7 separate regions of the Homo sapiens genome follow, and all the other regions are linked to region 5. Evidence: promoter capture Hi-C in 16 types of primary human blood cells and fetal thymus (Javierre and others, 2016). All regions are on one chromosome and are shown on one strand. Each heading gives the region's core, a stretch centred on a gene start or on the middle of the fragment in contact. The rest is flanking DNA. Distances are from core to core; before and after follow the strand shown. Region 1 holds the start of FASN (fatty acid synthase). Region 2 has its middle 6.3 kb from the start of DCXR-DT. Region 3 overlaps HEXD (hexosaminidase D). Region 4 holds the start of LRRC45 (leucine rich repeat containing 45). Region 5 holds the start of CSNK1D (casein kinase 1 delta). Region 6 overlaps NARF (nuclear prelamin A recognition factor). Region 7 has its middle 4.3 kb from the start of TRX-CAT1-8.

The links. The method cuts DNA at HindIII sites, captures the fragments that hold promoters and counts their contacts. A CHiCAGO score of 5 or more calls a contact.
Region 1: the fragment with the promoter of FASN here is called in contact with the fragment with the promoter of CSNK1D in region 5 in 7 of 17 cell types (neutrophils, non-activated CD4 T cells, activated CD4 T cells and 4 more); the score reaches 10.9 in neutrophils.
Region 2: a fragment that was not itself captured here is called in contact with the fragment with the promoter of CSNK1D in region 5 in 2 of 17 cell types (naive CD4 T cells and naive CD8 T cells); the score reaches 7.5 in naive CD4 T cells.
Region 3: a fragment that was not itself captured here is called in contact with the fragment with the promoter of CSNK1D in region 5 in 1 of 17 cell types (activated CD4 T cells); the score reaches 5.8 in activated CD4 T cells.
Region 4: a contact is called between the fragment with the promoter of LRRC45 here and the fragment with the promoter of CSNK1D in region 5, in 6 of 17 cell types (neutrophils, total CD4 T cells, non-activated CD4 T cells and 3 more). The highest score is 8.9, in neutrophils.
Region 6: a contact is called between a fragment that was not itself captured here and the fragment with the promoter of CSNK1D in region 5, in 1 of 17 cell types (activated CD4 T cells). The highest score is 5.7, in activated CD4 T cells.
Region 7: a contact is called between a fragment that was not itself captured here and the fragment with the promoter of CSNK1D in region 5, in 1 of 17 cell types (activated CD4 T cells). The highest score is 5.3, in activated CD4 T cells.

What each region holds. Positions count from the first base shown.
Region 1 is chr17:82,096,475-82,099,576 of GRCh38, reverse strand. It overlaps FASN (fatty acid synthase), which reads left to right and starts at 1,341. Exons shown (of 43, transcript NM_004104.5): 1 at 1,341-1,456. RefSeq lists silencers at 169-1,648, 1,719-1,908, 1,929-2,138, 2,199-2,248 and an enhancer at 2,117-3,032. The HindIII fragment of the contact is 59,862 bases long and covers 1-3,102 here.
Region 2 is chr17:82,042,539-82,045,837 of GRCh38, reverse strand. No RefSeq gene overlaps it. Among named protein-coding and RNA genes, the nearest start is that of DCXR-DT, 6.3 kb to the right of the region's middle. The HindIII fragment of the contact is 7,461 bases long and covers 1-3,299 here.
Region 3 is chr17:82,430,857-82,434,286 of GRCh38, reverse strand. HEXD (hexosaminidase D) reads right to left here. Exons shown (of 13, transcript NM_001330542.2): 5 at 465-629. Among named protein-coding and RNA genes, the nearest start is that of HEXD-IT1, 7.2 kb to the right of the region's middle. The HindIII fragment of the contact is 3,427 bases long and covers 1-3,189 here.
Region 4 is chr17:82,021,376-82,024,692 of GRCh38, reverse strand. It overlaps LRRC45 (leucine rich repeat containing 45), which reads right to left and starts at 1,388. Exons shown (of 17, transcript NM_144999.4): 1 at 830-1,388; 2 at 354-415. The coding sequence starts at 1,049. CENPX (centromere protein X) reads left to right here and starts at 1,815. Exons shown (of 5, transcript NM_001271006.2): 1 at 1,815-1,867. The coding sequence starts at 1,832. RefSeq lists enhancers at 415-1,338, 2,888-3,317 and a silencer at 1,075-2,124. The HindIII fragment of the contact is 18,366 bases long and covers 1-3,317 here.
Region 5 is chr17:82,272,124-82,275,454 of GRCh38, reverse strand. It overlaps CSNK1D (casein kinase 1 delta), which reads left to right and starts at 1,755. Exons shown (of 9, transcript NM_001893.6): 1 at 1,755-2,149. The coding sequence starts at 2,074. LOC124904089 (a long non-coding RNA gene) reads right to left here and starts at 1,677. Exons shown (of 2, transcript XR_007065953.1): 1 at 382-1,677. RefSeq lists silencers at 1,616-1,825, 2,066-2,255, 2,306-2,355. The HindIII fragment of the contact is 9,296 bases long and covers 403-3,331 here.
Region 6 is chr17:82,478,560-82,481,840 of GRCh38, reverse strand. NARF (nuclear prelamin A recognition factor) reads right to left here. Exons shown (of 11, transcript NM_012336.4): 6 at 2,923-3,041; 7 at 630-759. Among named protein-coding and RNA genes, the nearest start is that of TRX-CAT1-8, 15 kb to the left of the region's middle. The HindIII fragment of the contact is 4,536 bases long and covers 1-3,281 here.
Region 7 is chr17:82,497,547-82,500,710 of GRCh38, reverse strand. No RefSeq gene overlaps it. Among named protein-coding and RNA genes, the nearest start is that of TRX-CAT1-8, 4.3 kb to the right of the region's middle. The HindIII fragment of the contact is 2,729 bases long and covers 128-2,856 here.

The sequences.
Region 1 (3,102 bases), core at 92-2,591, 180 kb after region 5:
CCTCAGGCCTGCTCTCAGGAGAGGAAGGAAGCGGGACACCTGCAGAGGGGCCGGGGGCCCCAGTCTCCGGTTCCCCTTCAGCGGCCCGGGCTTGCTGAGCCCTCAAAGTAGGACACGCAGCCAGAGACACCTGTGGCCTCACAAGGCCCGCTTGCCCCCCATGGGGTGCCTGGCCCCGCAAGCGCGAAGCGGTCAGAAAAGGGAGGCCGCGCTTCAGGGCTCAGGCCGCCCAAGGGGCCACGATTCGAGGAATCACTCGGGAGGGAGGGAGCGCGCGAGGGCCGGGCTGAGCCCCCGCCCGTGGGTGCGCGCCTGGAAAACTCGCAGCCTCCGCCCTGGGAAGTGGGGCAGCGGCTCCCTTTGTCCGCACCACACCAGGTGGGTGTCCCGGCCGACTCCGCTCGCCACGTGGCCGCGCCCCTCCCCTCCGCCGAGCTCCAGCGGCCTGGAGTGCGCTCGCCCGTTCGGCCCTGCGCCTCGTCCGGGTCCCCGGGAAGCTGCTAAGGAGGGGCCGTCGGGTGGGTGGACGTCCGTCTCGGGTCTGGGTTCCCCGCCGCACCCGCGAGGAAAACCGGGGATGCGCTGCGATGACCGGCAGTAACCCCGGCCGGGGCGCCCGCGGCCGGGGTCAACGCCCGCACTTGCGCCGCGGCCCGCGAGGCATCCGGGACCGCCCCGCCGCCCGCCCATCACCCTATCGCCTAGCAACGCCCACCCGCGCGCCGCCATTGGGCCGGTGCGAACACCCCTGGCGCCCGATTGGTTGCTGCTGCCGCCGCGCCGCGCAACGCCGCGCCCTCAGCCAGCTCCGCGCGGGCAGCGACGGCGGCGTGGAGTCGGCGGCCGAAGTGCGGGCACGCGGGTCCGTCCGTCCTTCCGCGCGCCTGTGGGTCCGAGCGCCCCGCCGCAGCCGGCTGGACCCCCGGTGTGGCCACGGGGTAGTCCCCAGTGTGGCCCAAGCATTCCCATCCCGCACACGTGGCCCCGGCGGACACGGGGGTCGGGGATGGCTCGGGAGGCGCGCCGCGGGCTCGGTCGCAGCCGCGTGCGCGTCGGGGCCCGCGGGGCGGGAGGCGGAAGTCGGGGGGCGGTGGTTTCCCGCCCGCCCCGCCCCCGGCGCTCCTCAGTCCCAGCCCCACCCCCCCAGGCGCGTTCCCGCGCAGGGTCCCGGCTCGGGCGGCGGCGCGCACGAGCATCACCCCACCGGCGGCGGCGCGCCGGGTCCCGGGGCGCAGCCCCGACGCTCATTGGCCTGGGCGGCGCAGCCAAGCTGTCAGCCCATGTGGCGTGGCCGCCCGGGGATGGCCGCGGTTTAAATAGCGTCGGCGCCGGCCTAGAGGGAGCCAGAGAGACGGCAGCGGCCCCGGCCTCCCTCTCCGCCGCGCTTCAGCCTCCCGCTCCGCCGCGCTCCAGCCTCGCTCTCCGCCGCCCGCACCGCCGCCCGCGCCCTCACCAGGTACGAGCAGCCGGCGCTGGGGCCGGGGCGCGGGTCGTGGTCGGGGCTGGGCCCGGGGTTCCCGGGGTGGCCCGGCTCCTCATCCTCCGCTCTCGGGGCGCGCGTGGCCCGGCCCCGTATCCAGGGGTCGCCTGGGCGGCCTGTCCGGGTCTCGGTGTTCGTGCCCCTTCGGAGGCGCCCGGGGCCCCGCGGAGTAGGTGGGCGGATGGCGGGGGAAGGACGCCGGGGAAAGCCACCAACAGCCGCCTTCGCTTCCCGTGGGGGAGGCCGCGGACCCTGAAGGGCCTGGAGGAGCCCCCGGCTCGGCCTCCCCGCGCCCACAAAGGCGCCGCCGCATCCTCCTCCCGGAGCCGCCCCGGAGCCGAGGCCCAGCCCGAAGGGGACGCCGCGAGGGAGGAACGGGGGGGCGCAGGGGCCGCGCCGGGACCGGCCTCCCCATCACGTGGCGCAGCCCGGCCGAAGCGCAGGGGTCCCGAGCAGCCCCCGCCCGGGGCGAAGGGAGGCCGGGCGCGCCGCGGTGTTCCCACCCCCTGCCTGGCCGTCGACCCCGCGTGAATAGCAAGCGGCGAGGACCCAGCGTGCGGGCCTGGAGCTGGCCCGGGGCAGCCAAGCCTCTGTGAATCGCAGCGGGTGGGAAGGCGGCCGCCTCCCTGCCGGGACGGCCCAAGGGAGGCCGCACTGCCGAGGGGCGGCGCGCGTATCAGGCCCTGGGGCCTCGTGCAAGTGGCCAGACCAGCGCTGGCCTCCGCCCCCTCCCCCCAGGGCCGCACCAGCCCTCATGCTGGAGGAGGAGCCGGCGGCCTGGGCACCCGTTCCGGGTCTTAGGGACCTGGGCTCCAGGGAGGGCCTCCTGTGGTGTGTGGGTTGGTATGGGGAGGCAAGCGTCTGTGGGTTCACCCGCGCAGGTGAAGGGTGCCAGGCAACACCTGCGTGTCCTGGCCAGGAGTGGTTCTCCAGGTTGGACCCTGCTGGAGGGGTTGGACTGGCTGGGTCGGTCCACAGTGGGGCAGGGGCCACCTTTCCCCCAGAGCATAGGCTATCCCCATTTCGTCCCTCCCCAGCCCTGGTGGCTCTTGGGCTGGCCTGGACAGCGGGCCCCCACCCCAACACGGGTGAGCATGGGTGCTGAGTACCCCCCTCTAGGGCTCCCAGCCACCTCCATGCCCCGGCTTTGGGACCCTGCCTCTCCATTTCTTTGATGGCCCTTAGCAGGCTGGCCACCTGAGGCCTTGTCCCCATCTCAGGTGACCCTGCCTGCTCCTCACTGTGAGCCCCCTGGTGCCCTAGGGATGGCCTGGGACAAGCTCCAGGAGCCTTGGAAGGCTGAGACTCAGGCGAGTGGAAGCCGACACAGGCGCAGAAACCAGTAACTGCTGGGGAGGCCAGGGCTGCAGGGCTCCAGTGGGGTACCCCAGCCAATACCCTGAACTGAATGGGTCAGGGCCCAGAGGCGGGCCTGTTCCCAGAGCACGCAGCCCCTCCCAGCGAGAGCGGGGTCAGGGCCCAGGAACTGGCCACATGAGGAAGGGAGCCGCAGGAGCCAGGGCCCGCACGGACCCTCAGGGTGGTGCTTGGCCCCATGGGTGTCCACCTGTTCTGGGTGCCGAGGCTGTTGACGGGGGTGTCGTGGCCGGGATGTGTGGGGC
Region 2 (3,299 bases), core at 403-2,902, 230 kb after region 5:
CTGGAAAAGTCACAAATTTGTGGAAATGTAACAACGCACTCTTAGCCAGTGGGTCAAGGAAGAAATCACAAAATACCTGGAGACAAATAAAAACAACTTAAAACTTAGGAGATACCATTTTGCTGAGGGAGATATTTACAGTCGCAAACGTTACATTAGAAAAGAGGCTACTCTGGGCCACGCTGCCTGTGGCATGGCCCTGCTCTGTGTGGAGCCGCTTAAAAATAACACTAAAATAGGCCGGGCACAGTGGCTCACGCCTGTAATCCCAGCACTTTGGGAGGCCGAGGCGGGCAGATCATGAGGTCAGGAGATCGAGAGCAGCCTGGCTAACACGGTGAAACCCCGTCTCTACTAAAAATACAAATTAGCCGGGCGTGGTGGGGGGCGCCTGTAGTCCCAGCTACTCAGGAGGCTGAGGCAGGAGAATGGCTTGAACCCGGCAGGTGGAGCTTGCAGTGAGCCGAGATCGCGCCACTGCGCTCCAGGCTGGGCGACAGAGCGAGACTCCGTCTCAAGAAAATTAAATAAAATAAATAATAAAAATTTAAAAAATAATAATACTAAAATGAGTATAAATGCTTGAGGGGGTGGACACCCCATAGTCCGTCATGTGTGTCTGTCACACTGCATGCCTGTATCGAAACATCTCAGGTACCCCATAAATATATATGCCTCCCATGTACCCACAAAAATTTTAAAAAATAATAAAATAATAATTAAAAGAAAAAAGAGGCTAGGCATGGTGGTTCATCCTTATAATCCCAGCACTTTGCAAGGCGGAGATAGGAGGATCACCTGAACCCAACCTGGGCAATTTAGCAAGACCTTATCTTTACAAAAAAAAAATTGATAATTAGGCACGGTGGTGTGCCCGTGTAATCCTAGCTACTCGGGAGGCTGAGGCAGGAGGATGGCTTGAGCCCAGGAAGTTGAGGCTACAGCAAGCTGTGATGGTGCCACTGCACTCCAGCCTTGTCAGTAATCAAAAAACTCCTGACAAGGAAAAGTCCTGGGCCTGATGGTTTCACTGGTACATTCTACCAAACATTTAAAGAAGAACTGGCCGGGTTTGGCCGGGCGTGGTGGCTCACTCCTGTAATCCCAGCACTTTGGGAGGCCGTGGCAGGCGGATCACAAGGTCAGGAGATCGAGACCATCCTGGCTAACACGGTGTAACCCCATCTCTACTAAAAATACAAAAAATTAGCTGGGCGAGGTGGCGGGCGCCTGTAGTCCCAGCTACTCAGGAGGCTGAGGCAGGAGAATGGCGTGAACCTGGGAGGCAGAGCTTGCAGTGAGCCAAGATCACGCCACTGCACTCCAGCCTGGGCAACAGAGCGAGACTCCGTCAAAAAAAAAAAAAAAAAAGAACTGGCCGGGTGCAGTGGCTCATGCCTGTAATCCCAGCACTTTGGGAGGCCAAGGCGGGCGTATCATCTTAGGTCAAGAGTTTGAGACCAGCCTGGCTAGGCATGGTGAAACCCTGTCTCTACTAAAAATACAAAAATTAGCAGGGCATCTGTAATCCCAGCTACTCAGGAGGCTGAGGCACGAGAGTCGCTTGAACCCGGGAGGTGGAGGTTGCAGCGAAGCAAGATTGCACTTTCACAGCAGGTGAAGGAAACGACGGGTGACAACAGAATGGCCAGGAAGGCCGTGGCTTGGAGTTCATTTTCCTACCCAGCACGTCCTCGCTATGCAGACGGCAAAACATGCGACCTCCCAAAGCCTGGGGTCTGAGCAATGAAGGACCTGCCTAGCCCATGCTGGGGGATCCACAGGCTTGGGCGCCCAGGCACAGGGCACATGGAGGTGGCGGGGAGGGCTCCTGGCTCTACTCCTGGGGCACCAAAGGCTCTGGGGGCAGGCTGAGTGTCTACACATGGCTTTCCATGGCCCTCAGAGGAGACCCTGTAGGAAACTTTCTCTGTAGCATCCGTGAGCTCAAATGCTCCTCCACGGCGGGGGGTGCTTATGGCAGGAAGGGCCTAGCACTGAGCCCACAGACACCCGCAGAGTCGATCATACCTCCCGGCCTTGGGCTCCCGGGGAAGCCTGAGCCCCATATCCTCCTCTCTGTAGGGACTACAGAGGCTCAGAAGGCCGGACGCGAACAGGAGGGCCCCACCCCCATCCGGTCGTCTTAGGAACAGTGGCCCCTGCTGTTGCCTCGCCACATGGGACCATCCTGAGAGCTGGAAGGACCGGCCAGCTGTCCCGTGGAAGATGGGAGCTGGGGGTTCTTAGGTCTTTTTGACCCCCTCATTGTCCAGAAGAATCAATATGGCCTTAGGGAGCCCTTGGCTTTCCTCCTGGAGCGGGAGCCTTTCCCCAGCCCCCACCTATGGTTGCTTTCCAGAGCTCAAGGCTCAGGCCCAGCTCCCAGCACCAGGTGCAAACCTGGCTCAGCCAGGAAGGCCAGCAGCCACCCAAGACCTGTAACCACGTTGGCCGCCTTCACCTGCTCTCCCCCAAGCTCAGCCTCATGGCCCAGCTTCAGGGAGCACCAGGGTCTGTCCCCTCCTGAGGGTGGCTCTCCTGCAGGAGGACTTGAGCCCAGGGACAGGGTCCTGGCCAACCCTGACTCCTAGCAGGGATCCTCACAGAGAGCAACATCGAAGCCGAAGCTGCTGATTTCCAGGGTCCTCTTTGCCACCATGGACCAGAGCGTGTGTGTCCGTGTGCGACTGTGTGTCTACACACATATTCACTTGTGCATGCCTGTGGGGGGTGTGGATACATATGTGTATACACGCATGTCTGTGGGCCTGTCAGCTGCAGTGCATGCACCCCCATGCTCAGGCCTGCATGTTCACATATGCTCCATGTGTGCACTTGTGTGGCTGCCTGGTCCATGCATTGCCATGTGTGCTCACGTGTGCATGCCCGTGTGTGCGTGTGTGTGTGTGTGTCCTGTGTGGCTGCTGTGCCATGGCATGCATGTGTCCCCGGGTGCACACACATGTCCCCGTGTGCATGCTCATGTGTGTCTACACCTGTGTGTGCCTGTGTCCCCGTGTGCATGCTGATGTGTGTGTCTACATCTGTGTGTGCCTGTGTCCCCATGTGCATGCTGATGTGTCTACACCCGTGTGTGTCTGTGTGTGTCCCCATGTGCATGCTCATGTGTGCCTACACCCGTGTATGCCTGTGTCCCCGTGTGAATGCTCATGTGTGTCTATGCCCATGTGTGCCTGTGTGTGTCCCTGTGTGTATGCCCAAGTGCTTGTGCTCACATTGGCATGTGCCTCTGCGTGTGTGCACACAGACATGAGGCCAGGAACAGGTGGCCTCTC
Region 3 (3,430 bases), core at 227-2,726, 160 kb before region 5:
CCCTGGGGACCACCTTTTCCATTGGGTGCTTCAGGGTCCAAATGCAGAACTTCCTCTCAGCAACAAAAGGGTGTCCCTCGAGTTACACCCTGACTTATGCTCACTGCTGGTCCTGGGGCGTGAACCTGCCCATCACCCACAGGCTTCCGCCAGCCCAGCCGCCCGGGGTGGTCTCGTCTGACACGAGGGTGCCTCCCTCGGGCTCTGCAGGCTGTCCCGTGCCAGGCCGCCCATCCACCCGGAGAAGATGTTGGACGCGTCTGACACGAGGGTGCCTCCCTCGGGCTCCGCAGGCTGTCCCGTGCCAGGCCGCCCATCCACTCGGAGAAGATGTTGGATGGGGTGCCCTGAGGGGAACAACAAGCCTGTCTCTAGGCCTCAGTGCCTGGAAGATTTTCCTATTTAAAAGGACAAGCCATGATAGGGGAGAGTGTCCTGCACAGAGCTGGGGTGACAGTACCCACCTCATCACACCCGATGTGCAGCCGCTGGGCGCCTGGGTGTAGCTCCAGGACCTGGTCAATCATGGCGCCCACCAGCGCCAGGGACTCTGCCTCGTGGGGGTTCAGGGTGCAGGGGAAGGAGCCCACCTCCCGCAGGTGGGCGAAGGCCGTGTGCTTCAGCACAAACTGCGGAGAGACAGAGAAGTTCGCGTTGGGGGCGGAGGAGCTGGACTGATCTCCTTCTGCCCACCTGGGGCTTCTGTTTCAAATCTACAGATAATACAAAAAAATTAGGCCAGGCAGAGAGTCTCAGTCCTGTAATCCCAGCACCTTGTGGGGGCTGAGGTGGGTAGAATGTTTGAACTCAGGAATTTGAGACCAGCCTGGACAACTGGTGAAACCCCATGGAATCTCGCTTTGTTGCCCAGGCTGGAGTGCAGTGGCACAGTCTCGGCTCACTGCAACCTCTGCCTCCCAGGTTCAAGTGATCCTCCCGCCTCAGCCTTCCCAGTAGCTGGGGATTACAGGCATGTGCCACCACGCCTGGCTAATTTTTGTATTTTTAGTAGAGATGGCGTTTCACTATGTTGGCCAGGCTGGTCTTGAACTCCTGACCACAAGTGATTCGCCTTCCTTGGCCTCCCAAAGTGCTGGGATTACAGGCGTGAACCACCACGCCCAGACTAAAAATATATATATAAAAAAAAAAAAAAAATATATATATATATATATATATATATATATATATATATTTTTTTTTTTTTTTCTTTTTTTTTTTGAGATGGAGTCTTGCTCTGCCGCCCAGTCTGGAGTGCAGTGGCATGATCTCGGCTCACTACAAGCTCTGCCTCCCAGGTTCACACCATTCTCCTGCCTCAGCCTCCCGAGTAGCTGGGACTACAGGCGCCCGCCACCACGCCCGGCTAATTTTTGTATTTTGTTTTAGTAGAGACGGGGTTTCACCGTGTTAGCCAGGATGGTCTCGATCTCCTGACCTTGTGATCTGCCCGCCTTGGCCTCCCAAAGTGCTGGGATTACAGGCGTGAGCCACTGCACCCAGCCATAAATTTTTTAAAAACCAAATCGGTTTAAGAAAAAAAAGTGGCCAGGTGTGGTGGCACCTGCCTGTGGTCCAGCTACTTGGGAGGCTGAAGCGGGAAGATCACTGGAGCCTAGGAAGTTGAGGCTGTAGTGAGCCATGATCACACCACTGCACTCCAGCCTGGGCGACAGAGTGAGACCCTGTCTCTGAAAAGAAAAAAACAGAAAAATGTTTATCTATGAAAGACCACTCTAACTTTGCCTAAGAACAGAGACTCTGTGGCCTCGGCCTAGGGCTACTCACTGCCCCCTTCCCCCTCACTGTGGAAACCACAGCTTTGCTGCCAAAGGGGCAGACTTAACTTGAGGCTGGGTTAAAAACCCACCCCTTGTGGGGGCGCTGTCAGTAGAAGCAGCAACTGGAGAAGAGGCCCTGTCTTCCGCTTGCCAGAGGGTGCAGTCCCTGCTGGGGAGAGCCAAGACTGGCTGCAGATTTAATGGGTGACCCTGGAAACAGAAAGCCAGATGGTGCTGCACACTCTCCTCAGGCCTGGCTGACGGGGGCCACACACACGTGCAGGGACCTGTGAGGGCCAGGTGGGAACTGCGCGAACCTAGGGATGCACCCCCCACCGCCCACACACAGCCCCGTGGCAAGGGGAGGAGGTCTGTGGGCTCAAGGTGTGGGAGCACAACCTCTGCCCAAACCCTTGGCTGACCACCAACTATGAAGACAGAGGGATGACCCTAGGAAGCCAGGCTAAAATGTAAAAATAAGAACCAAAAAATCTCAGCACAGACATCAGTGAGTGCACACAGCCAGGGGCAGGTCCTGCAGGTTAAATGCAGGCCATTTGCTAGAAAACAACAAAAAGACCACCACCAGCCACTGGGGAAAAGAGTAAACATTCAGCTTTGCTATAATGTATTAACTGAAATGTTCAGTTCTCAACCAAAAATTTTGAGATGTGCAAATGAACTGGAAAGTAGGATCCAGTTCACAGACTCTGACTCTCAGGGCCCACATGCAGAATTTATCAAATATTTCAAGAAAACTACTATGAATATATTGTAAGAATGAAAGGAGGCCGGGCATGGTGGCTCATGCCTGTAGTCCCAGCACTTTGGGAGGCCGAAGCGGGCAGATCACTTCAGGTCAGGAGTTCGACGAGATCAGTTTGGCCAACATGGCAAAACCCCGTCTCTACTAAGAAGACAAAAATTAGCTGGGTGTGGTGGCGGGCGCTGTAATCCCAGCTACTCGGGAGGCTGAAGCTACTTGGAATGTGGAGTTTGTAGTGAGCTGAGATCACGCCGCTGCACTCCAGCCTGGGTGACAGAGTGAAACTCTGTCTCAAAAAAAAAAAAAAAATTAGCACTTAGGGAGGCAGAGGCGGGAAGATCACCTGAGCCCAGAAGTTTGAGACCAGCCCAGCAACATAGTGAGACCCCACTCTTCACAAAAAGGAAAATGAACAAAAAAAATTAACTCAAAATGGGGCCAGGTGCAATGGCTCATGCCTATAATCCCAGCGCTCCGAGAGGCTGAGGTGGGAGAACTGTTTGAGGCCAGGGGTTCGAGACCAGTCTGGGCAACATAGTGGGACCTGGTATCTGCAAATAATAAAAAAAACTGGCCGGGTATGGTGGCACGCACCTGTGGTCCCTGCTACTCAGGAGGCTGAGGTGCTTGAGCCCAGAAGCTTGAGCCCAGAAGCTCAGGGCTGCAGTGAGCTGTGATTGTACCACGCGCTCCAGCCTGGGTGACAGAGTGAGTCTGTGACTCAAGACAAATAACTTGGATGTTCAAGGGTTCTGGAGAAAGAATAAAAATACCAAACTAAAAATGGATCATAGATCTAAATGAAAAATGCACAGAAGTTAAACTTTAGAAGAAAATACAAGAAAAATCTTTGTGATCTGGTGATCACAAAGAGTTTTTAGAA
Region 4 (3,317 bases), core at 139-2,638, 250 kb after region 5:
CTAGGAGAGAAACAGGCCGGTAGTCACTCGCGTGCCCTGACTGGCTCTGAATTCCCGCCCATGCCCCAAGGGCCTTGGTCAGCCAGGGGACAAGCCTGGGGTGCACCCTGCAGCCTTCCTCAGCTCCTGGGCTCCCTGTCTTCAGGGGGCTTCCAAGGGCCGGCTTGTTTGCCAATGTGAACTCTTGCTCTGGAGATGGTCACACACAGGAGGCCATCAGAGAGCGGCCTGGGGACTCACAGACAGCTTCCAGCCACCTGCCCAGACCCCAGGCCCCCGAGACCTGGCATCTTCCACCTCTCCTCTTGCCCTTGGGTGGCACACTCGGACACTCAAGAGTGCAGGTATCTCACCTTTAAGTCCAGAAAGCGCAGCACGGTGTTGGCACACAGGCCTCGGAGCAGCAGTGTGGCCCCTGTGTAAGGGGGGCCGGCGGTCACTCTCTGCCCCTGCTGACCCCAAGGCCCTCCCCGTGGGCCCCTTTTCAGGGCAGCTCCCTAGACCCAGGAAGGGACAACTGTCCCGATGGTCTGGGTTGGCGCTGGCCAAGAGTCTCGCTGCGAAGTCATGTTTGAAACACCTGCAGCCCCTGCCAGGCACCAAGCCGGCTCTGCACGCGGGGAACCAGGTAAGACCGCGAATGTTAAGGCCTCTCCCCCGTCATACAGAGGAACTGCCCTCTACTCCCAGGTGCAGGAAGGGGCGCCCCTGCTCGCTTTAACTACGGCACAGAAATTGGAGAGCCTGGAGAGGAAGCGACCTCGGGCTGCCGAGGCAATGGTGTGGGCAGCTAAGGAGCAGAGGGATCCACCCCGCCGCGCCTGCCCACCTTCCTCGCTGAGCATGCAGTCACTCAGGACCAGCTCCGTGCACAGCGTCTCCCTCGGCAGCAGCTTGCCCAGGGCCCTGCAGGTCTCCACCGTCAGGCTTTGCGTGGCCAGGTCCAGCCGGCCCCTGGGAAGCTGGTGCAGCTGCTGCAGGACAGCCTCCTGGGGCTCGGCCCCACTCTCCCTGCACAGGCGGCTGTAGGAGCGCCGGAACTCCTCCATGACCCGCGGGGCCGGCAGGGCCTCCTCCGCATGCTCCCGCAGCTGCTGAAAGGGAGCCGCGCGGTGCGGAGCAGTCCCAGCGCCGGGTACAGGAGACGGGGCCTCCGCCGACCCGGGCGGAGAGCAATCCGAGTGGGCTCCGCGGGCGGGAGGTCCTGGGAGCGCGGGGCTGGGCGGTAGTCAAGGTCCGCTTTGGGCTGGGGCCCCGCAGTGCTTGGGGACCACCCGTGCAGGAAGCAGGCAGGTGCGTCGCGCGCCCCCACCCAGCCCTGCCCCGCCTGCAGCCCCGACCCCCGCCCTCGCGACAGCCGCGTCGGGGCCTCAGTATCCAGGAAGAACAAGGCGCGCCGGGAGAGGCCGCGGGAACTACAACTCCTAGCAGGCTCTGCGCAGGCAGCGCTTGGTGCGGGCCAATGAGAACAAAGGAACTGGCGCGCCTTTCGGGCCGCAAGCTGAGAGGGGGCAGCGCGCTCCAGGTTCATTGGCTAGGGGCATGAGGGTGGGGCCCCGGGAGGGCATGCTCCGGGCTCATTGGCTGAGGGTCGTGAGGGTGGTGCCCCGGGAGGGCGCGTTCCAAGTTCATTGGCTGCGGGACGTGAGGGAGGGGCTGCTGGAGGGCGCGCTCCGGGCTCATTGGCTGAGACGTGGGGGCGGGGCTCCGAGAGCAGGCGCTTCGGACTCATTGGCTAGGGGCGCGGGGCGGGGCTCCGGGGGCGCGCTCCGGTCTCATTGGCTGGAGGCGCGGGGCGGGGTTCCGGTGGGCGCGCGTTGAGGCTGCGGTCATGGAGGGAGCAGGAGCTGGATCCGGCTTCCGGAAGGTGAGGGCCGGAGGGCAGGGGCTAGGCAGGCGCGGACGCTCCGTCCCGACCTCACGCGTGACACTGTGAGGGCCAGACGCCAGCCCCCGCGCCGCCCCCTGTGCCTTTGAGGTTGGGCCCGTTCTCAGACTCCATCTCCGGCCGGGCCGCGCGCCCCGCGCCCTCGTGGGCTGGTGTCTCGCAGCTGGTAGGAGGGGGCGTGGAGCAGCCGGGGCTGCGGGAAGGTGGAGAGGGTCTGCAGAAACAGGCAGGGGTGGGCGCCGTCACGGCGGAGTCCAAGCCGGCGAAGAGAGAGGAGGAGCTGGGCCGCCGCCCTGCGCCCTGAGCCTGGGGTCTTTTGTTAAGGGGAGATGAGGCCCCAGGACGGGGACAGTGAGATCGTCCAGCCCGAGGAGCCGGCAGGACCTACCCCAGCCGCCAGGCACAGTGGTTTCCCTTTTGTTTGCTCCCCGGTGGGCGCCAGCACTGGGCTAGGAACGCGTGGTTTCTTCGGTGCTCCACGTTACACACACTTGACAGGGATTAACCCCACCTGCCAGTGGAGAAACTGAGGCACGGGGGCGTTAAGTGACTCAGCAGGGCTAGGGTCAGACCTAGGCCGTCTGAGCCAGGATCCGCCCAGGCTGGAGGGCGTGCCCTGCTCTTCCCTGTTCCTGGAAGTGGAGCTCTCTGGGGGTGCCATGTGCAGAGGACCCCATCGGTGCAGGCAGAGTGGTTTCTGAACCTTTCTACTGCTCTACCTGAAGGTTGGGGCACCGAGCTTCCTCGATGTCAGCAGGGCCTCGTGGGCCTCTGTGGCCTGGGAAGGGAGGGTCTCAGGCCCTTGTGAACCCATCCTGGAGGGAGGACTTCAGCCCTGTAGAAGCAGGGAGAATTCTGTTTCTCCTGAATCAGGCCCTTCTTTATCACCCAAGGCAGCAGGCGTGGGGGGCGGGGGGTGTCGGTGTGGGGAACTCTGGTGGTGGAGTTGAAGATTCTTGCCGGAATTCAGAAAGAGAAAGTCACTGAGGCTTGGGCCACCTCACTGGGTGGTTGTGAGAACACCAGGTTAAAGTAGCCAAAAGGCCACTGCCGGAGACGGGGCACTGGGTACACACCCCAGGAGGTCATGTGTTCTATCAAGCCCACCTGACAACTAGAGGCCCAGGGGCTCTGGCCAGAGCTGGAGTTGTGGTCATTGCAGAGAATGAGCGTGAGAATGACGGGGAGTGGGGGGCCCGTAGCCCTGGCGTGGCGCCCACGTCATGGGGCAAAGCTGGCTGTGTCCTAGGCACCCTCCACAACCGCCCCAGTGCTGGGCCTGCCTTCCGAGGCCACTGCCGATGTACGGGGAAGCCCCATGGATTGTCGAGGCAGACCTGGCATCCGCCACTCTCTGGCGTGGTCTTCCTTCCAAGGCCTGGGGCAGCAGTGTTGGGGGTCCCGGAGCAGGTGGGGAGATAGTGCCTTC
Region 5 (3,331 bases), core at 506-3,005:
CTCTGTGACGGAGGCTGTTCCTTGGCAATGACTATCCTCAGCTTCAGCCCCCTGCTGACAGTTTTCTAGCTCAGAACCTGGCCATGTCTGCACCCTCCCTGTCTTCTCGGAAGGGGTGCTGTCATTCCCTGGGCTACACACCTGCTTTGTCCTCCTCTCTCTGACCCCAGGGCTCCAGGGTACCACTGTCCTCTTCCTTTGTCAGTTTGTTGTGGCTGGGGCTGGTGGTGGGGGAGCCACAGCAATCAGCCTGCCTCACCTTGCCCAGCCCGCATGTTCCCAGGGCTCCTGCCATCCCCACTACACCACAGCCCAGTCCGTGTGCACGGGTTATAGAGTCAAGACACAAACACACAAAAGCCAGGCAGACGGGCACAGTACCTGCCGCAGCTGCATGAAGCTTGGGGCACTATGGGTGAGAAGAGCTAGAAATGTTGGGGCCATCAGAGCCCAGGAGGACCAGCCGAGGGAGGAGCAGCTGACAGGTGGGCAGGTGCCCCTAGTCAGGGACAGCAGGACTCCCCAGGAAGAAGGATCACAGCCACCCGTGGGAGAGCTGGACTCTGTTCATCAACAGAAAAGCCGTGAGCGATTCCGCCAACAAGGTCAGTTTTACTAGTCTGGCAGCCCCCCACCCCCGGCTTCTGTAACTCAGAAACTGGGCAGTTCCGACTGCCCATCCCTCATTAGTGACTGATGGTGGTCTGGCCGGCGGCATCTCCTGTCTCCAGGCCCTGCTATGTAATTTCGGGAATGGACGCCCGTCTCCCCGACCTGACCTCCAGCTGTTTGGAGCTGAGGGGTGGAGAGGAAAGACTGGGGGGTGGAGAAAGGCGAGCACCACTGTGGGGCCTGTGGGGGCTGCTTTCCTCTTCTGCAGTGACCTGGACGGGCTGAGGCTGCTGTCTCACTCACACGGCGGTGCCCACACCACAGCCCTGGTATGCTAATGCGTCAAAACACACCTTCACCTGTTTCACATTCTTGAGTTTCAGCGAGGATGCGACAGGTCTCGAGACACATGGACGTGGGACCATGGGGACGGGTTCTTCAAGGTCCCCATGCACCTGCAGCCTGGGGGGGCTTGTCTGAAGGGCTTTCTTCCCAGTGATGGGAATCAAAGGCCCCGATCTTTGAAGCTGGCCATCAGCCTGAACGTCCACTCCTTGTTTCCTTTGCAAGGAGGAACATTCAGATCCAACACAGATAAGAATGTTGACTCCGTCTCCAGGCCGCAGGGACTGGAGGGAGGCAGGTGGTCTGGCCTCATTTTGTGAAAGGTGGTGGCTTTGTCCTCAATCTTCAGGCTGGACATCAGGACCTCCCAGGGCGCGGGCCTGCTCTGTCTCTGGCCTTAGGTGTCAGGAGGTAAGGCCGCAGACGCTGACGTACTGGGATGCCCCAAGCCCGGGAACTGGCAGCCCAGTGAGGGGGTCTCACCTGTGTCCCCTGAGCCTGGCCTGTCACTCTGTCCACGCCTCAGCTACCTGTCCCCTCCTGCAAAGGGCACCGCCTGTCGCGAGGAACTCACCTGGCTTCCTCGACATCTCGGGGGACACACGAAAAGCCCCCGCGAGAGCAGCAGGAGCCTGCACGTGGAAGGGGCTGGCGGCCCGAGGTCCCGGGGTAACAGGAGGGCAGAGGGGCTGGGCACGGCGCAGGGTCGGGAGGAGGCCTGGAGCGCTCGCCCCGCCCGGCCCCGCCCCTGGAGCGCCGCGGCCCCGCCCCGCCGGGTTGCTAGGGGAAGTGACGTCACAGCGCGATGGCGGCGGCTCCTTTAGGCAGCTGAAAGGGGATTTAGGCCCGGAAGATCCGAGTCCATCCGCGGCGGGGAGAGGGCAAGCGGGACCGGTAGGGGCCGGAGCAGCGGCGGCGGCGCTCGGACTGTCCCATCCGCCCCGTATTGAGGCGCTGGGAGCGGCGGGGCGACAGGAAAGCGATGGTGAAAGCGGGGCCGTGAGGGGGGCGGAGCCGGGAGCCGGACCCGCAGTAGCGGCAGCAGCGGCGCCGCCTCCCAGAGTTCAGACCCAGGAAGCGGCCGGGAGGGCAGGAGCGAATCGGGCCGCCGCCGCCATGGAGCTGAGAGTCGGGAACAGGTACCGGCTGGGCCGGAAGATCGGCAGCGGCTCCTTCGGAGACATCTATCTCGGTGAGGCCCCGCCGCCCCCGCCCGCCGCCCGAAGACCCGGGCCCTGCGGCTGCCAAGACCAAGCGCGATCGCGGAAGGAAGTGGTGGCCCCCGCGGGGTCTCCGCGCAAGTCCCGGCACCGCCGGATCGTGGCCAGAACCCAACGGCCACTAGGCTAGCGCGGCCAGGGGTGGGGAGGGCAGTGGGGAGCGGACGTGGGGGAGGGGCAGGACCAGGTCGGGGGAGCAGGGTCTGGAGAGGGGAGGGTTGGGGAAGGAGGGGATAGGGGAGCTGACCCGGGGTGGGGCATGGTCTCTGGGGAGCCGACCTGGGTAGGGGCAGGGTCGTGGGGAGCGGACTCGGGAAGGGCTGGGTGGGGCGTGGGGAGGCGGGCCTGGGGGAGGGGCAGGGCGGGGGTGGGGGCAGCGGGCCGTGGGAGGGGAGGGGGTAGGGCTGGGGCCGCGAAGCGGGCGTCGGCTTCCTCTACGCCTAAGGTCACCGCAGTAAACAAAGGCCACGCTCTTTCTTCCGCAGCCCGGTCCGGGGCTGTCTGGCTGCCCCCTCAGAGGCTGCCCCGGTGTCTTGCATTCGTGGGGGAAAATGTCAGAAAGACCCAAATGCCGTGTGGAGCGGGGGAGTGGCCCGGCTAGGAGTGGGGCTTGCCCTCCCGCTGGGGGTTCTCTCTGAACGGTTCCCCTTGGCCTTGGAGCGGTGACTGAGTGCAAATGAGCAAGGGTTAAGTTTAGGTGAATGTAGAGAAAGTCACACAGGATTAAGATGCTGGCAAGATGAGAGGCAGATGAGGTAGTTGTACTCATGAGGTGTCCTTTAGACTGTAACAGTCTCAAGGTAGATTTCAAAAACAATGGGATTAGAAGGTTTTGGGTTGTGTCATATTTACAATGGAAAAATATGCACGTGAACACAAGTGTGATGAAAGGTTGGCTTAAATCTTCAAGTTTGTAATTTTTTTTTTTTTCCTGAGACGGAGTTTCGCTCTTGTTGCCCAGGTTGGAGTGCAATGGCGTGATCTCGGCTCACCGCAACCTCTGCCTCCCAGGTTCAAGCGATTCTCCTGCCTCAGCCTCCCGAAAAGCTGGGATCACAGGCGTGCGCCACCACGCCTGGCTAATTTCGTATTTTTAGTAGAGACGGGGTTTCTTCATGTTGGTCAAGGCTGGTCTCGAACTCCGGACCTCAAGT
Region 6 (3,281 bases), core at 767-3,266, 210 kb before region 5:
CTTTCCCACCAAGAGATAAGTACCTTACATGGACTGTAATGTAAAGTTAGGGCCACCACACTGCCCAAGTGGTTCTCCCAGGACCTGATTTATCTTTTTTTTTTTTTTTTGAGACAAAGTTTTACTCTTGTTGCCCAGGCTGGAGGGTAATGGCGCGATCTCGGCTTACTGCAACCTCTGCCTCCCGGGTTCAAGCGATTCTCCTGCCTCAGCCTCCCGAGCAGCTGGGATTACAGGCATGTGCCACCATGCCCGGCTAGTTTTTTGTAGTTTTAGTAGAGACGGGGTTTCTCCATGTTGGTCAGGCTGGTCTCGAACTCCTGACCTCAGGTGATCCACCTGCCTTGGCCTCCCAGTGCTTAGATTACAGGCGTGAGCCACTGTGCCCAGCTGAGACCTGATTTATCTTGAGGAAGATGCACAGAGGAGACAGGAGGCTAGATCGAACATGACCCTTCTCTTCACCTGCAGTTAAGCCCCTAGGACCCTCAGCTGTCAGTAACTTCAGACAAGCGACCACATTGGCAGGCACTGAGATGGCTCTGGGACACAGATCTGCCTGGCTCTGGTGTGTACTGGCCAGTAGGAGATTACCCCAGCGCCCAGGTGCACCCCCGCCCACCTCTCACCTGATGTTAACACGCAGTCAGCGCCCCGGGAGCCATGCAAAGCAGGGGGAAGGCTTTCCTGAAGAGCCTCCAGCTTCTTGTCATAACAAGGGGCCACAATGACGTGGAAAATCTTCTCTGGAGACAGGTTCTGTGGGAGAGGGGCACCCATATTTAGGGCTGGTGAAGAGGTGACGGCAGCTTACGCTTGGTGCCCAGAACAAGAGGGATGGGAGACCGAATGCCCCCTGCTGCTGCCCTCCAGACACTGCATGCTGCACTCTTTTTTTTTTTTTTTTTTTGAAATGGAGTCTTGCTCTGTCACCAGGTTGGAGTGCAGTGGCGTGATCTCAGCTCACTGCAAACTCTGCCTCCCGGGTTCAAGCGATTCTCCTGCCTCAGCCTCCCGAGTAGCTGGGACTACAGGCGCATGCCGCCACGCCTGGCTAATTTTTTGTACTTTAGTAGAGATGGGGTTTCACCGTGTTGCCCAGGCTGGTCTCAAACTCCTGAGCTCAGGCAATCTGCCCGCCTCGGCCTCCAAAGTACTAGAATTACAGGCGTGAGCCATCGAGCCTGGCTGCATGCAGCACTTTCTTGGGGCTGGGACTGTTGTGGGTCTGAGGCCGGGCCCCACAGATGAAAGTGCTGTAGCCACATCTGGCTCCCATCCCCTCTTCAACTCTACCGAGCACCAGCACTCCATCCATGTCTGTCTGCTGCCTCCCTCAGGACTGGGTGTGGTCCTCCCAAACATCTGCAAAGCCCCCCAGCCAGTGGAGCCTCCTGGAAGAACCGGGAAGGCTGAGCCCATTTCCTCCTGAACCTGTGCACATGGGGACAAAACAAGTAAGAGGAAGTCCAGCCGGCGTGGAGCTGTTGCTGGTCCAGCATGGAGCCATTGCAGGAGGCCTGAGTGAGTGTGTGTGTGTGTGTGTGTGTGCGCGCGCTGGCTACTTCACCCACAGACTTTCCTGAATCTTCCCAAGCGATGCCCACCCAAGCTACCCCTCTCCTGGGTCCACACAGAGCAGGTGCCTGTGGCTGGGCCTGAACTGGTGGCAAAGCCAGGAGCCAGCAGTTGCCAAGTGACCCTGTGGTGAGGTCTGGGTGGAAAGGACCCACTCAGGGCAGGGGCGGAGCAAAAGAGGAAACCCGCCCCTGGTTGCAGCTGTGCCAGGTGGTCAGGTGAGAGGCTGCTGGAGGCCGGGTCTCTGCGGCTGCCCCTCATGGCACCTACAGGAGGACACATAGCTCTGGGCTCCATCCAGGGGAGAGGGCAGCACGTGGAAGACCTAGAAACACATGGCTCTCTTCAGGTGGGGGCAGGGCAAGGGACAGAAAGTCCCATAGCTCATTTTTCGGTCCTGCCTAAACTGAACGTGTATACTCTGACATCATGTTTATAATTTGCCAAATTATGACTTTATGGGTAGAAAGAAACTAGATAGAAGGAAAACACTGCCTATTGCTAAAATAACAAGGCTGCCAAATGTGCGTGCCTTTTTAGGCTGACTTCAAATGTCTGAAAGATCCTGATGTTACCCTCTACTCCAGTTACCACAGTGCCTGGACATGGCTGCTTCCCCGGAGGGAGGTGTAAAGTCTGATTGAGAAGAGCAGTGTGGGGCATGCCAGCGGCTGGAGAATAAACCATGGGATTAGGGTCCCTTTGAGGGTGGCCTTGGAGACATCAGGGAGTTCTGGGAGGACCTGGGGGCCGCAGAGGGTTGTGGGAAGGGAGAACACGACGGGCCGAGGCAGGGGGCACGCAGGAGCCTCAGGCCGGGACTCACTCCATCAAGAGGAGGACAGCATCATGGCCACTGTGGAATCTCACAGAAGTGGCTAAGGAAGTCATGTGATGCCCGTGGTCTGAGGGAAAGGCCAGGGCAGAGGCCAGGTTTGGCTCCCTAAATGACAGCTGCCCTCAGCCTCCAGGCACAGGCCACTTTAGGCCTCCTTGGGTGAGGCATCCCAACAGCAGGCAGGCAGCATCTCTGGGCAAGGTCCGGGGCCTCATTCTCAGCAGGGTGGGCAGCATTTCTACTCTACCCCGAATGGGCCCAGGAAAACCACCAGATGCCACAGAAAAGGTTAAGAAGAAAGAAAAAGGTTGTAAGAGGAAGGGAGGAATAGAGACGGGCGTTGGTGAGAAACAGCACTGCTGATGTTTCCTGAAGCCACAGCTTCCTTTTTGCTCACCTGGGGGGCCGTGACCACGCTGGACAGATGGGGAACCTCCCCTTCCTGGGCCCCTGTGCCATGGTCCTCCCTCACCTGCCCTTCCTGCCCTCCAGAGAGGTCAGCTTACCTGCTGTCTGGCGAAATAATCCTTCACCAAAGAGCCCATGACCTGCTGGGGGGACTTGGCGGTGCAGAGGTGGGCAGTGATGGGGCGACCCAGCACCCGCTCGGCGTATCGGACCCAGCCTGGGGAGAGAAGGGATCCACGGTCAGCTCCTTACTGCTTCCTCTGGTCTTCCTGTAACGCACCAGGGAATGCTGAGCTCGAGTCCCTGCCGCCCCAGGGTGAAGCCAGAACACCTTTTCCCCAGGCCTTACCAGGAGCTCGTGCTGGACCCAAAACCCGTCCTCGGTGGCCCGGCTGTGGGTCATGGGAACCTGCAGGCCTGGAGGCTACTGGGAAATGGGAGCATCCCTGCAAGGCCG
Region 7 (3,164 bases), core at 243-2,742, 230 kb before region 5:
CAGTCCCTTCGACCCAGCTATGCTATGGCCAGCTGCCACGTGCTCACCTGGCCAGAAATTGACCCACGGGGCTCCTGACCACTAGCCCCAGGCAAGAGGAGCACACAAGGCTTGGGGAGATCAAGCTTTGAAATACTTCCCAACACACAGTCTGGAACATTCTCCGAACATCTGACTCCCATAGTGTGAGCAGAGAACCTACTCTTGAATGCTGGTCAGGATGGGAAATCCCTCCTGGAGGGCAGATTCTATGGAGCTGGTCCCTGCCCCACAGCAGAAATTTTGCTGCAGTGAACCATTTCTTGGAATGCCTGTGCTTGCAGGGCACACGCCTGTGGCAGCACCAACTGTGATCCCTGGAGTGTGAAGTCACATCAAGGCTTTGCACATCTGAAACATATGCAATTGTCCTGAGAAATTCTGGAAGTTCCAGAAGAAATAACACACAAATTGCTAATAACACAGCAAAAGTAGCTGAAGAGATGTGTGTTCTCAGGACAGAACCCCTTCACACACTCGCAAGTCAGTATGTGTGGTGTATTGTTATTTTGTTTATTTATTGATGGAGTCTCTGTCTGTCGCCCAGGCTGGAGTGCAGTGACATGATCTCTGCTCACTGCAACCTCCACTTCCTAGGTTCAAGCGATTCTCCTGCTTCAGCCTCCCGAGTAGCTGGGACGACAGGCGCATGCCACCATGCCCGGCTAAATTTTTGTATTTTTTTTTTTTTTTTTTTGAGACGGAGCCTCGCTCTGTCGCCCAGGCTGGAGTGCAGTGGCGTGATCTGGGCTCACTGCAAGCTCCGCCTCCCGGGTTCACGCCATTCTCCTGCCTCAGCCTCCCAAGTAGCTGGAACTACAGGCATCCACCACCACACCCAGCTAATTTTTTGTATTTTTAGTAGAGACGGGGTTTCACCACGTTAGCCAGGATGGTCTTGATCTCCTGACCTCACGATCCGCCTGCCTTGGCCTCCCAAAGTGCTGGGATTACAGGCGTGAGCCACCGCGCCCGGTGAATTTTTTGTATTTTTAGTAGAGATGGGGTTTCATTGTGTTAGCCAGGATGGTCTCGATCTCCTGACCTCGTGATCCGCCCACCTCAGCCTCCCAAAGTACTGGGATTACAGGCGTGAGCCACCGCATCCGGCCAGTGTATTGTTATTTTATTACACAATTGTGGAGCTCAAGACAAAGTACTGTATCACAACAGAAATTAAAAACACTAATGGTCAAAACCATGAAGGAAAAGAATCGTCGTAACTAAAAAAATATGGAGAATGAAAATGACGATACAGACATTATGAGAGAACACACCAAACAGAAAGCAAAGATGCAGAAGGGAGCTGAAGGTCACAGACAGGAAAACCACAGCTGGTCCAGTCAGCAGGACACACACTGGGCTGGCCACAGACACACCCACAAATTTGCTGGTTTCAGTACCACGCTGTCTCATTACACCTGTTACGACGAGCAGTAATTCCACTCAACACTTTTTAGTGGAAGATTTATTGTTCAAGATTCCGATCCTGCAACTTGCACTTAATCAACTAAAACACATCAGACAAAACAGATGCTTCTCAAAACATTTTGAAACCATTTTTTTTTTTGGAGACAGAGTCTCGCTCTGTCACCCAGGCTGGAGTCCAATGGCACCATCTCGGCTCACTGAAGCTCCGCCTCCCGGGTTCAAGCGATTCTCCTGCCTCAGCCTCTCGAGTAGCTGGGATTACAGGCGCCACCACGCCGCGCTAATTTTTTGTATTTTAGTACAGGCGGGGTTTCACCATGTTGTCCAGGCTGGTCTTGAACTCCTGAACTCAGGCAATCTGTCCACGTAGGCCTCTCAAAGTGCTAGGATTACAGGGGTGAAACACCACTCCCGGCCAAAATAGGTTTTTTTAAACAGAAAAACTGCCACCTGATGTTGGTTAGTCTTTCCTAAGACTAAACATTGCCTATGTTGTTTGGTTGTATAGGTTTTTAAACCAGACCGACATTACCTACATCAGGGAGTCTTTTACATAAATGAATACCGGTTTTTTTTTTTTTTTTTTTTTTTGAGACAGAGTCTCACTGTCACTCAGGCTGGAGGGCAGTGGCACGATCTCGGCTCACTGTAACCTCCGCCTCCCAGGTTCAAGTGATTCTCCTGCCTCAGCCTCCCGATAGCTGGGATTACAGGCACACACCACCACGCCCGGCTAATTTTTGTATTTTTAGTAGAGACGGGGTTTCACCATGTTGGCCAGGATGGTCTCGATCTCTTGATCTTGTGATCCACCCGCCTCGGCCTCCCAAAGTGCTGGGATTACAGGCATGGGCTACCGCGCCCGGCCCCATCAGTGAGTATCTTGAGAACCCTCAACAATCACAAAGGCTCCGCATAGCACACGAAGGATTTGTGGACTTGAGTCACACAGAAATCACGAACAGAATGTACGTGGTGTCATTAGTGAAGAAGAGTGAATAGTAAACATGGAAGTCAGCCTGCGTTTCTCCGGAAATCACAACGCTGGAAAGCTGGTATTAAGCCGCTCTGGGCCGGGCGGGGTTGCTCACACCTGCACTCCCAGCGCGTAGGAGGCCGAGGCGGGAGGATCCACGGAGCTCAGGAGTTCGAGACCAGCGTGAGCAACAGTGTGAGACCCACCCCCCCACCCACCCCCAGTCCTCTACCAAAGACAAAGGAAAAACGCTACCGGGAAGACGCGCGGAATTCCGGGCCAGTCACTGCGCGGGGCACTTGAAATGCCTGAAATCCTTCCCGTCACATAGGAGAGGTTGGGCCAGATCTGACAGCAACCCTCAAAGTGTCTAGAGCGTTGCCAAAGAGAATACACAGTGGACAGAAGCTTTTCTAAATGCCCCATAATAACAAGCACGTTTACATCCACCGGGGGAAAGGAAAGAAGGCCCTTTCTATTCTCTCCTAAAAGCAGCACCTTCAATCATCGCCGCGTCAAGCGGCAGAGCCTGCAGCCCGCACTTTAGGGCACCGCGTTCGTTTCAGGCGGGACTGGGGAGTTCTCCGAGCGCGGGGGGTGTGGGCGCCGCCCGTTCCCCGGCGACCACATTCGAATACCCAGCGTCTCACTGGGTTTCCTAAGGAGAGGCGCGGGCTGCTCAGCCCTCACGTGCTCGGACGCGGCCCCAGCGTCCCGA